Linked DNA regions of Homo sapiens: region 1 is linked to region 2. The links are contacts of gene promoters, found by promoter capture Hi-C in blood cells and fetal thymus (Javierre and others, 2016). All regions are on one chromosome and are shown on one strand. The core of a region is centred on a gene start or on the middle of the fragment in contact, and the rest is flanking DNA. Distances in the headings are between cores, read along the strand shown. Region 1 overlaps LOC105372268 (a long non-coding RNA gene). Region 2 holds the start of ZNF699 (zinc finger protein 699).

Evidence for each region. Contacts are between HindIII fragments. The CHiCAGO score rates a contact against its expected background, and 5 or more counts as called.
Region 1: a fragment that was not itself captured here is called in contact with the fragment with the promoter of ZNF699 in region 2 in 1 of 17 cell types (total CD4 T cells); the score reaches 5.4 in total CD4 T cells.

What each region holds. Positions count from the first base shown.
Region 1 is chr19:9,504,774-9,510,675 of GRCh38, reverse strand. It overlaps LOC105372268 (a long non-coding RNA gene), which reads left to right. Exons shown (of 3, transcript XR_001753862.2): 3 at 169-2,868. It also overlaps a transcript of ZNF560 not described here. Among named protein-coding and RNA genes, the nearest start is that of ZNF560, 9.1 kb to the right of the region's middle. The HindIII fragment of the contact is 3,644 bases long and covers 1,784-5,427 here.
Region 2 is chr19:9,307,843-9,313,767 of GRCh38, reverse strand. It overlaps ZNF699 (zinc finger protein 699), which reads left to right and starts at 3,930. Exons shown (of 6, transcript NM_198535.3): 1 at 3,930-4,418. RefSeq lists silencers at 1,361-1,655, 4,011-4,260 and an enhancer at 3,831-3,950. The HindIII fragment of the contact is 15,955 bases long and covers 314-5,925 here.

The DNA of each region.
Region 1 (5,902 bases), core at 2,356-4,855, 200 kb before region 2:
TTTTGACTCCTGGTATTGGTGGTAAGACTCCAGCAGAAAGACATTGGCAAGTGTTAGAGAAAAAGAGGAAAGTTCTTCTGAAAGTGTTATGGAAATCCCTGGAAGGACAATGGAAAGGCCTGGTGGACTTATTGACATGGGGATGAGGGTATGCTTGTGTTTTTACAGGAGATGGACAAACCATTTGGGTGTCCTCAAGGTGCATGCAACCATGGAACAGGAGACTGGAGGGATCCATGGCGGCCAACCATGGGCCTGGTCCCTCCGGTATGGGCCATGAGCCAGCTGAGCCTGAGTGTGAAGATGGAGAAAAGGCTGACCGGAGTCACGAGGACATCAAACCCCATAACCTGAGGGCAACTCAAGAAAACCACGCAGGAAGCTGAGAAAATGCTGGAGCGTCAGGGCCAGGCAAAAACCCCTGAATCCATGTTCTTGGCCATGTTAGCCATAATGTCCTGTGTGGTATGTTTTCTCTCTGCAGAGGCAAAAACATATTGGGCATATGTTTCTAATCCCCTAGTAGTATGGCTTGTACTTTGGAGTGGCACTCCCCCTGAGATCTATCATGATCAGGGAGCATGGGCTCCAGGACCTCTAACTCCTCCTGACATAGAACAGTTAGACTCTCAGAACAATGTCATCAATTATATGGCCCCACTGGAAGGACTCCCCTGGTGTATCACTACAAAGATATTGCTCAACTGTAGTAGCTGTCTTACAATTCAAGCTCAAGCATGGTTGAGTCACCATGGAAAAGTCATGTGCTTATTAGGTCTTAGTTCTATTAATGTAACTGGTGTGCTAACCAACCATTCCCGGCCCAATCACCCCAATTGTGTTGACTATATGGAATGGATTCCCTTCAATAGTTCCTACCCCGCTCCATGGACCCAATGTCTTGGCCCACTGGCTAGAAAACAATCTATGTTAACTGAAGACATTGTGACTTGGGGACCTAAAGGTCAACTAGATGGTAAAGATAAAATCAGACATCATGGCACAAACTTCACTGTCATTGGTAGCAGACTTTCAATGCTTCTTCTTTACACCACACCAGGATCCAATCCCATTCTGCTGCCAGGGTTGCTTGGCATGGAACAGGCTTTATCCCGCCTCTTCTTCAGTGGCAATATCTAGGTAGGAAAGGTCCAATTCAAGAAACAATATGGAAAGCAGCAGTCCCATTTACAAATGGTACTATCTGGGTAGGGGTACTCTCTAATACTAGTACTGCTACTCGACACAGTTTTGATGTTACATTTGTAAAGAGTATCACCACTAAATTTACGGTTTGTGTTTTTAATCCTTATGTCTTTATGGCAGCTAAGAAGGACCAGCTCCAGGTAAACAATACCCAATTGACCTGTAAATCTTGTCAGTTATATCACTGCATTAATCATAGCACATTGCAAACACATCTCTACCTTGATAATTATGGGTCGCATCCCTGGGATATGGATTCCTGTTAATCTGTCAGAGCCTTGGGCCTCCACCCCTGCTTTGCACTTCATGAAACTTCTAACTCAGCTTACTCATTGTACCCGTAAAGTCTTAGGCATGATAATTTTTGCTATTATTTCCTTGGTCACACTAATAACTTCTGTAGTAATGTCCTCTGTAGCTTTGCATAGTTCTGTTCAAACAGCTCAGTACGTGGAGAACTAGACATGTACCACCAAGAAAATATGGCTACTTCAGAGTAAAATTAACACTGAGTTACAAACTGAAGTGGCAATGTTGAAATCCATGGTTCCATGGTTAGGGCAACAAGTACAAAGCTTACAATTGCAACAGCAATTGTGCTGTCATTTTAATCACACTCATATTTGTGTAACCAACTTAGAATATAACCAAAGTGAGTATCCATGGGACCTTGTGAAAGCCCATTTGCAGGGAGCTTTCACATCCAATATCGCCTTTGATATTGGTGAATTATGAAACAAAATTATTGGTTTAAATAAGCAAACTCAAGAGTTTCAGCCTTCTTTAGAAGCCTGGACCAAATTCCAGTGAGGTCTGGAGAGCCTCAATCCTTGGACCTATCTAAAGCGCCACATTAACATCTCATGTATAGTTCTGGGAATAATGCTGTTCTGTCTTTGTTTTCTGTTCATAGTCTATAAAATTGGATGGACTGCCAATCAGAAAATGAGAGCTGCCCAACCTGGCCTTACATTCATTCAATTAATGCAAAAACAGAAAGGGGGAGATATTGGGAGCTGAAAACCTGAGGGTCATGACCAACTCAGCATTCCATTGGAGGCTATATGATCAAACAGCAAACTGTTTATCATGAATGCAGGATGTGGGCAAACTCACATCTGTGCCTGCCACCAGAAGGTAGGCTGAGGGCAATCACTCCCTGGCACTGTGCACCTTGAGGTTATCTACTGGAATATCTGGAGCCTACTGTTCAAGGAAAGCAGACATGCAGGCCTGCACTAAATCATGCAACTGGCTCATGATCACCTGCTCCTCCCTATTTCCTTTACTCAATAAATACAAAGGGCTCTAGAAGCTCAGGGCCCTTGTTCACTAGAAGCAAGGAGCCCCCTGACCCCTTCTTTTAAAACAGATCTTTTTATCTTTGTCTTTATTCCTGTGTTCATCCTCCTTTGCTCAGTCCTCTGGGGTCTGTGGCAGAAGATAAAAAACACTATTACATGAGATTTTCCACCTTTTCATTGTCTATCCATTTATTCACATTTTCATTTATTCTCAGAGAAGGAACTGTTTTAATTCCTTTTAAACGTTTTTATTTAGTGTTCTTTGTAAAGTTTTCTGTACTTTTCTTTCTAGATTATATCCTTTTTTACTTTCTTTTCAAAATACTTTCTAAATAAAATACCTACCAATTCTAAATAAGATAACATGGAGCTATTTTCTTTGTAAAGCCAAACTCCTAACATTAGTTCTTTGGTCACTGGTTGCATCTTCTCTTCCATAGAAGATGTGAGCATGCAGAAGAAAGAATCCACAAATTTGAAGATAGAACCTTTGAAAAATATCAACTCTGAGGGGACTAAAGGAAAAAGAATGAAGACCAAACAGAACTTAAAGGACCTGTAGTACACCATGCATCAGACCAACATACACATTATGGAAGCTGAAGAAAGATAACAGAGAAATAAAGGGGAAGAAGTAAAATGTGAAGAAATATTAAGCAAAACTTTCCAAATTTGATGAAAGACATGAATCTTTAAATCCAAGAAGCTCAACAAACTCCAAGTAAGAGAAACTCAGTCGGGCGTGGTGGCAGGTGCCTGTATTCTCAGCTACTCGGGAGGTTGAGGCACAAGAATCCCTTGAACTTGGGAGGCAGAGGTTGCAGTAAGCTGGGATTGCACCATTGCACTCCAGCCTGGGCAACAAGAGCAAAACTTCATCTCAAAAAAAAAAAACATTAAAAAAAGAGAAACTCAGGCCTACAGTGAATCACATATCATCAAAATGTCAAATGGCAAAGACAAAGAGTGCTGAAAGAAGTGATTCTCAATACTATTAATAACAAATATGTCATCAGAAATCATGGGGGACATAGTCGGTGAGATGACATATTTAAGAGCTGAAAAAGAAACACTATCAACCAAGAATTCTGTGCTCACCAGAAATGTTCAAAAATGAGGGAGAATTTAAGACATTCCTAGAAAAACTAATGCCAAGGACAGTTACCACTACACTTGCCATACAAGAAATGCTGCTGGACGTGGTAGCTCATGCCTTTAATCCCAGCACTTTGGGAGGCTGAGGCAGGTGGATCACGAGGTCAGGAGTTTGAGACCAGCCTGGCCAACATAGTGAAACCCCGTCTCTACTAAAAATACAAAAACTAGCCAGGTACAGTGGTGCATGCCTGTACTGCCAGCTACTTGGGAGGCTGAGGCAGGAAAATTGCTTGAACCCGGGAGGCAGATGTTTTGGTGAGCCAAGATCGTGCCACTGCACTCCAGCCTGGGCAACAGAGTGAGACTCTGTCTCAAATAAATAAATAAATAAACAAATAAACATAAAAGAGATGCTAAAAGGAGTTCTTCAGGATGGAATAAAAGGATGCTAGACAGTAACTCAAGCTGTGTGGAGAAATAAAGATCTCTAGTAAAGGTAAGTATATTGGAAAATATAAAACCACATTTATGGTATTTTTGTATCTAATTCCAGTTTTTACTTTTTACTGAATTTTTTAAAAATCAATAAAAATTATAAGTGTATGTTTTAGGCATACAATATATAAAGATATATTTTGCAAAAAAAAAAAAAACAACAGAAGCGTGCAGTCGTATAGCAGAATTTTTGTATGCTATTGAAGTTAAGTAGGTACAAATTCAAATAATATAACTTTGGAATGGTAAATGTAATCCTTATGAGGGCTGTTAAAGTTTTGGCTGGGTGCAGTGGCTCACTCCTGTAATCCCAACACTTTGGGAGGCTGAGGCAGGCAGATCACCTGAAGTCAGGAGTTCGAGACCAGCGTGGCCAACATGGTGAAACCCTGTCTCTACTAAAAATACAAAAATCACCCAGGCGTGGTGGTGCGTACCTGTAATCCCAGTTACTTGGGAGGCTTAGGCAGGAGAATCACCTGAACCCAGGAGGTGGTGGTTGCAGTGAGCTGAGATCACACCACTGCACTCCAGCCTGGGCAACAGAGCAAGAAGACTCCATCTCAAAAAGAAAGAAAGAAAGAAAGAAAGAAAGTAAATATGAATGAAAGCCTGGTGTGGTGGCTAACACCTGTAATCTCAGCACATTGGGAGGGTGAGGTGGGCAGATCACATGAGGTCAGGAGTTAAAGATCAGCCTGGCCAACATGGTGAAACCCTGTCTCTACTAAAAATACAAAAATTAGCCAGGTATAGTGGCACAAGCCTGTAGTCCCAGCTACACAGGAGGCTGAGACATGAGAATCACTTGAACCTGGGAGGCAAGATTGTGCCACTGCACTCTAGCCTGGACGACACAGCAAGACTGTCTGAAAAACAAAACAAAACAAAACAAAATCAATGAAAATTAGAAGAGAGTTAAATGATTCACTCTAAAAATCAAGTAAACACAAAAAAATCAGCAGTGGAGGAAATAAGGAGCTAAAAGTATAAGACATTCAGAACACATATAGCAAAATGGCAGGAAGAAAATCCTTCTTTATTTTTACTTTAAATGTAAATGAATCAAACACTCCAAGAAAAAGTCATGCTGTTGAAGAATGGATGAAATAATAAAGACCATGATCAAATCGTATTCTGTCTACAAGAAATTCACTTTATATAAAAAGCAACAGATAGGCTGTTAGTGAAAGGATGGGAAGAAGATATTCCATGCAAATAGCAACCAAAAGATAATTGGATTGACTATAATGATATCAGACAAACGAACTTTAAGTAAAAGACTTTATAATATACAAAGGATGGCAATATATTGATAAAAGCTTCAATTCATCAAGAGATGTAATAAGCCATGCATGATGGTATATGCCTTTAATTCTAGCAACTTGGGATGCTGAGGCAGGAGGATTGCTTGAGCCTAGGAGTTTAAGTTCAGTGTAAGCAACATAATGAGACTCTGTCTTTTATTTATTTATTTATTTATTTTTTTGAGACAAAGGCTCACTATGTCGCCTGGCTGGAGTGCAGTGATGCAATCTTGGCTCACAGCAACCTCCACCTCCCAGGTTCAAGCGATTCCCCTGCTTCAGCCTCCTGAGTAGCTGGGACTACAGGTGTGTGCCACCACACCCAGCTGATTTTTGTACTTTTAGTAGAGATGGGCTTTCACTATGTTGGCCAGGATGGTCTCAATCTCTTGACCTTGTGATCCACCCTCCTTGGCCTCCCAGAGTGCTGGGATTACAGGAATGAGCCACTGTGCCCAGCCGAGACTCTGTCTCTTAAAAAAATTAAAAATT
Region 2 (5,925 bases), core at 2,681-5,180:
AGGTCTGTCTGTGTGACTGTCATGCAGGCCTGTCTGTGTGATTGTCAGGGAGAATTGACCTGCCACAAATTGGGAGGAAAAGCAGTCTGGATACCATGAACCAATTCTTGGTGTTGCTAGGACCTGGTCTGTCAGTAAAGGAAAACCAAGGCAAAACATGCTTTGACCACTGTCCTAGTTATAGATTTATTACTTATGCTACAAATTTGTCCTTTTTTTCTGCTTTGTGATAATGGAGATGGGCCTTATAAATATTTCTCTTTTACCCATTACCAGTGTAGGGTGCTGGAAGACAAGGAAGGAGGAAGAAGCTTCCTTTCCAAGTTTCAGTGTTGAGGTAGAATAGGGTCTAGAGGAAGGGAACCTAAGGCCAATCACGCTGACTTTCTAGAACTAGATCAAAAGGAAACCCCACTTTCCATGCCCAAGTAACAAAAGGACCAGAGGCTATTGCCTTTGCAATCCCTCACCTTTTTTGCATGGCAGATGAAAAATTGAAATTACTTCTGATTGGCCGGGCATGGTGGCTCACACCTGTAATCCCAGCACTTTGGGAGGTCAAGGCAGGTGGATCACCTGAGGTCAGGAGTTCGAGACCAGCCTGACCAACATGGAGAAACTCCATCTCTACTAAAAATACAGAATTAGCCGGGTGTTGTGGCACATGCCTGTAATCCCAGCTACTCGGGAGGCTGAGGCAGGAGGATTGTTTGAACCCAGGAGGTGAAGGTTGCAATGAGCTGAGATTGCACCACTGCACTCCGGCCTGGGCGACAGAGCGAGACTGAGTCAAAAACAAACAAACAATAAAAAAACCTACTGTTATGCGTACTGTAGGAAGCAGCCCTACTGGGTCTGTGGGTTTTTCTCTTCGTGTGTGGAGACAAGAGATCATAGAAATAAAGACACAAGACAAAGAGATAGACAAAAAGACAGCTGGGTCCGGGGAACCACTACCACCAAGGTGCAGAGACCAGTAGCGGCCCCGAATGCCTGGCTGCACTGTTATTTATTGGATACAAGACAAGGAGGGAGGGTAAGGAGTGTGAGCCATCTCCAATGATAGGTAAGGTCACGCGAGTCACGTGTCCACCAGACAGGGGGCCCTTCCCTGTTTGGCAGCTGAGGTGGAGAGAGAGAGAGGACAGCTTACGCCATTATTTCTTCTATGCATTTCAAAGACTTTAGTACTTTCACTAATTCCGCTACTGCTGATTAGAAGGCAGAACCAGGTGTACAGGGTGGAACATGAAAGTGGACCAGGAGTGTGACCACTGAAGCACGGCATCACAGGGAGACGTTTAGGCCTCTGGATGGCTGCGGGCGGGCCTGACTGATGTCAGGCTTTCCGCAAGAGGTAGTGAGCAGAGTCTTCTCTAACTCCCCCGGGGAAAGGGAGACTCCCTTTCCCTGTCTGCTAAGCAATGGGTGCCTTCCCCAGGCACTGACGCTACTGCTAGACCAAGGTCCGCTAGGTAACGGGCTCCTTCCCAGGGGCTGGCATTACCGCTAGACCAGGGAGCCCTCTGGTGGCTCTGTCCAGGCATAACAGAGGGCTCACCCTTGTCTTCTGGTCACTTCTCACCATGTCCCTTCAGCTCCTATCTCTGTATGGCCTGGTTTTTCCTAGGTTATGATTGTAGAACAAAGATTATTATAATATTGGAATAAAGAGTAATGCTACAAATGATTAATGATATATACAATCATATCTATAATCTATTTCTAGTATAACTACTCTTATTCTATATATTTTCTTTATTATACTGGAACAGCTTGTGCCCTCGGTCTCTTGCCTTGGCACCTGGGTGGCTTGCCACCCACGCGTACAAAGAAGGCAGAAAGGAAATACAGAAAATTCAAACACTGCTGGGATTCTGAATGTTGTTTGTCTTTTCCTTATACTTTTCCTTTAAAATAAAAAACTACAATGAGAACATAATGCTTCATAATAGAAAAAGATTTACACTTAAAAAACATAGATGATGAAAGGGAGCTGGCTAGGGCACCAGGGACAGGCATTGGGAAGGTGACCTCAAGCCGCAGTGAAGAAGTAATGAACAACCTAGGGACCAATACAGAAAGGCCACCTGTGGTTCACTTATATAACACATCTCTACCTCATATTATACCAAAATACATTCCCTGAGCAGTAAAGAATTATACGTTTTAAAAAGCAGTACAATTTGGAAGTAAATTAGGAAGTATTTTTATATTTTAGAGTTTGGGGAGACATTTAAAAGCAAACTAGGAAACTCAGAAACCATTTTACTAAAAGTATAGATTCATTGGGGATATATAAAATTGAATATATATATTTTTGAGATGGAGTCTTTCTATTGTCGCCCAGGCTGGAGTGCAATGGCGCGATCTCAGCTCACTGCAACCTCTGCCTCCCAGGTTCAAGCGATTCTCCTTGCCTCAGCCTCCTGAGTAGCTGGGATTACAGGCACCCGCCACCATGCCCAGCTAATTTTTTGTATTTTTAGTAGAGATGGGGTTTCACCATGGTAGCCAGGCTGGTCTTGAACACCTGACCTCAGGTAATCCACCGGCCTCGGCCTCCCAAAGTGCTGGGATTACAGGCATGAGCCACTGCGCCTTGCCTAAAATTAAATATTTTATATGGATATCATATTATAAACTAAGAGGAGCAAAATTATGTTATCAACTCAATTGTTGCATAAACATTTGATAGTGTTCATAAAAAATTATTGATAAAATATCTTTATAAACCTGGTTTAAAAAGATTAACTTGATAAGAGGTGCAACCTGTTGTAAACAGCTTACTGAGGAACTTTGGTAATCATTACCGACCAAGACAAGAATGCTTAATTTCTTTCCGACTTATAGTTGAGGAAGCCCTAAACAAACAATAAGAAAAAGAAATGACTCTGGGTGTGGTGGCTTACACCTGTACCCCTAGCACTCTGGGAGGCTGAGGTGAGAGGATAGCTTGAGCTCAGGAGTTTGAGACCAGCTTCAGCAACATAGTGCGATCCCATCTCTACAAAAAAATAAAGAAAATAGCTGGGTGGGGTGGTACGCGACTGTATTCTCAGCTACTTGGGGGGCTGAGATGGGACCATCACTTGAGCTGGGGAAGTCAAGGCTGCAGTGAGCCATGGTCGCGCCACTGCACTCCAGTCTAGGCGATAGAATGAGACATTGCCTCACATAAAGAAATGAGTTATACACATTAAAACAATGAAAATATGCAGAGAAAATATTTATATTTGATGGTTCAAATAATAAACTGACAGCTATCAGAATTCAGCAAGTTTCCAGGAAAAAGGTTCTATTTAAATAATTATCAATGGCTTCCCTCTACAGGAGAAGTTATCAATACAACAATGAAAGGGAAAACTAAAAGGCCCAAAAGGACTGAGTGAGTGTCAAGGAGAGTCTGTTTCCTATTAGAGCTGCAAATATATGTGTCCTGTGTACAGGACTGTAGCAACGTGGAGGATAGGTAGAAACCCGATCGATGAGCATCCTGTATCCGTGGTAGCTGAGAACCTGGATGGGAAGCCCTAGCCTTAGCCCCATCCCTAGGCCTTGTCACTTAAGCCCCGCCCAGCCCTCGTCTCCGCCCCCTAGGAATTTCTACCAAGCCCCGCTCCCAATCTGGTTCCACCTTTAGCCCCGCCCCTTGGAGTATTTAAAAGGCCACGCCCCTAGGTCTAGCCCCAGTTCCGCCCCTCAGGCCGAGTCATGCAAGTCCAGTTCAGGGTTCTGTTTCTTCTCTGTTTACTCCAAATCATGAAGAAACTAGGATTTCTCATCCACTTGCGGCTGGAACCAGCCTTGGCGCTCCTTTGCATCCCGCTCCTACCTGCTCCACCCCCTTCACCTCAAGTCCCGCTTCCCAGGCCCCGCCCCATACGCCATTTGCAGCGCCGAAAGAGGAATCAGAAGTGTGCTTCTGCGCATGCGCGAGTCGACAGCCTTGTCACCCTACGCCTCCGCCCGCGTCTGAGGAACATTTTTGCCTCCGCCCGCTTCCTGTCCTGCCCTGCCCCGCCCCGCCCTGCCTGCCCCGGGTCGGGTCCGCGGGAGACCGAGGGCTGGGTTTGGGAATCGGCGGTCTAAGGGCTGCCTCCCCGCCACTCCTTGTCCGGACCCCGCGCCCGGGGCCTCCCGCCGCCGCGGCGCCTCCTCAGAGAGCCCGGGTCAGCTGCCCCTGTGGCCGCGGCTGGTCCCAAACTCACTGAATCGGGAACTCTGGTCTGGGTACAGAAATCGGGGTGATTCTGATGCAGGCGAGAGTTGGAGAACCAATGTCGTAGTTCATCAGCCTCCGAAAGCATCCTTTGCTCTCTTTCCAGAAAGGAAGAGCATCTCTGCCATTCGTGTCTCAAGGACAAGCGCTTCAGCCTCGTTCTCTGTGAGCTGATCTGTGGATCGCGGCGTGTCGGGTGAGCACGGGGTGACATTTGCCTCGGCTCGGTCCCCTCCTGTCCCCTCTTTATGCATTAGGTAGTGTTTGGGCCAAGCGCGGTGGTTCACGCCTGTAATCCCAGCACTTTGGGCGGCCGAGGCGGGCGGATCGCTTGAGCCCAGGAGTTTGAGGCCAGCCTGGGCAACATAGCAAGATCCCGTCTCTACCAAAAAAAAAAAAAAAAAAAAAAGTAAAATAAAAGGTGCTCTCCTGTGTTCCCAGCTACTCGGGAGGCAGAGGTTGCAGTGAGCTGAGATCGCATCACTGCACTCCAGCCTGGGCAACAGAGCGAGACACTGTCTCAAAAAAACAAAAAGATAGTATTTGGTCTCTGGATATTATATTCTGCCTGTGGACATCAGTTTGATACATTATATTCAAGTGAAAGTGAACTGATGCATTTTGTCATTAATGATGCATTTGAATCATTTGTCTATAGATTGGTTAAATTTCACACAGAAAATTTGGTCATCTGTCAGTTTCAATCTTTTCCCTTTTTATTCCTTGCAGTTTCCATTTCTTTTCATTTCTTTACTGCACTTGCCAGGACCTCCAGTACAATGTCCGACAGAATAGCATGTAATTTACATCCTGTCTTGTTTCTGATTCCAGAGGGAATTATTCTATCATTTCACCATTAAATAGGATGTTTGCTGTAGGTGTTTGTAGGTTTTTTTCCTTTCTTTATTCCTATTTCTTTTTAGAAAATAGGAGTCTCGCTCTGTTGCCCGGGCAGGTCTCGAACTCATGGGCTCTCCGCCTCCCAAAGTGCTGGAATTACAGGCATGAGCCACTGCACCCGGCCTGACCGTGTTTTAAACCGCTGATTTTTTTTTCTTTAATTACTGGGTGTAATCAGGTTTTAGATCACTGCTTGAAAGTTGTACTACTTTCTAGAAATTCATTAATTACCTGTGCATCTTCATATTTATTCCTTAAATTTTTTCTATATTCTCCTTATGATATCTGTAATTATGATTAATTCTTGTTCATTTTTTTTTTGTTGTTGTTGTTTATGCCCTGTTGCTCTTAAAATTGCTGAGTCTGTTGCTGGCTGCAGTGGCGCATATCTGTAGTCCCAGCTGGTGGGAAGCTAAGGCAGATGGATCGCTTGAGCCTAGGAAATGAGATCAACCTGGGAACATAAAGAGTCTGTCTTAAACAATAAATTAAATTAAAAAATTTTTTTAAAAAGCTGAGTTTGTCAGTTTCATTAGTTTTTCTTTTTGCAAAGGATGCTTTTTTAGCTTTTCTGATTTTGTTTACTATGTTTTAAAAAAGATTATTTTCTATTTTCTTTCTAAACTTTTATGCTGGTCTTTATTCAACTTTATATATCAATAGTCTAGCCTATTAATACCGATTTTTTTTTTTTTTTTTGAGACAGAGTCTCGCTGTGTCTCCCAGGCTGGAGTGCAGTGGCGTGATCTTGGCTCACTGCAACCTCTGCCTCCTGGGTTCAAACAATTCTCTGCCTCAGCCTC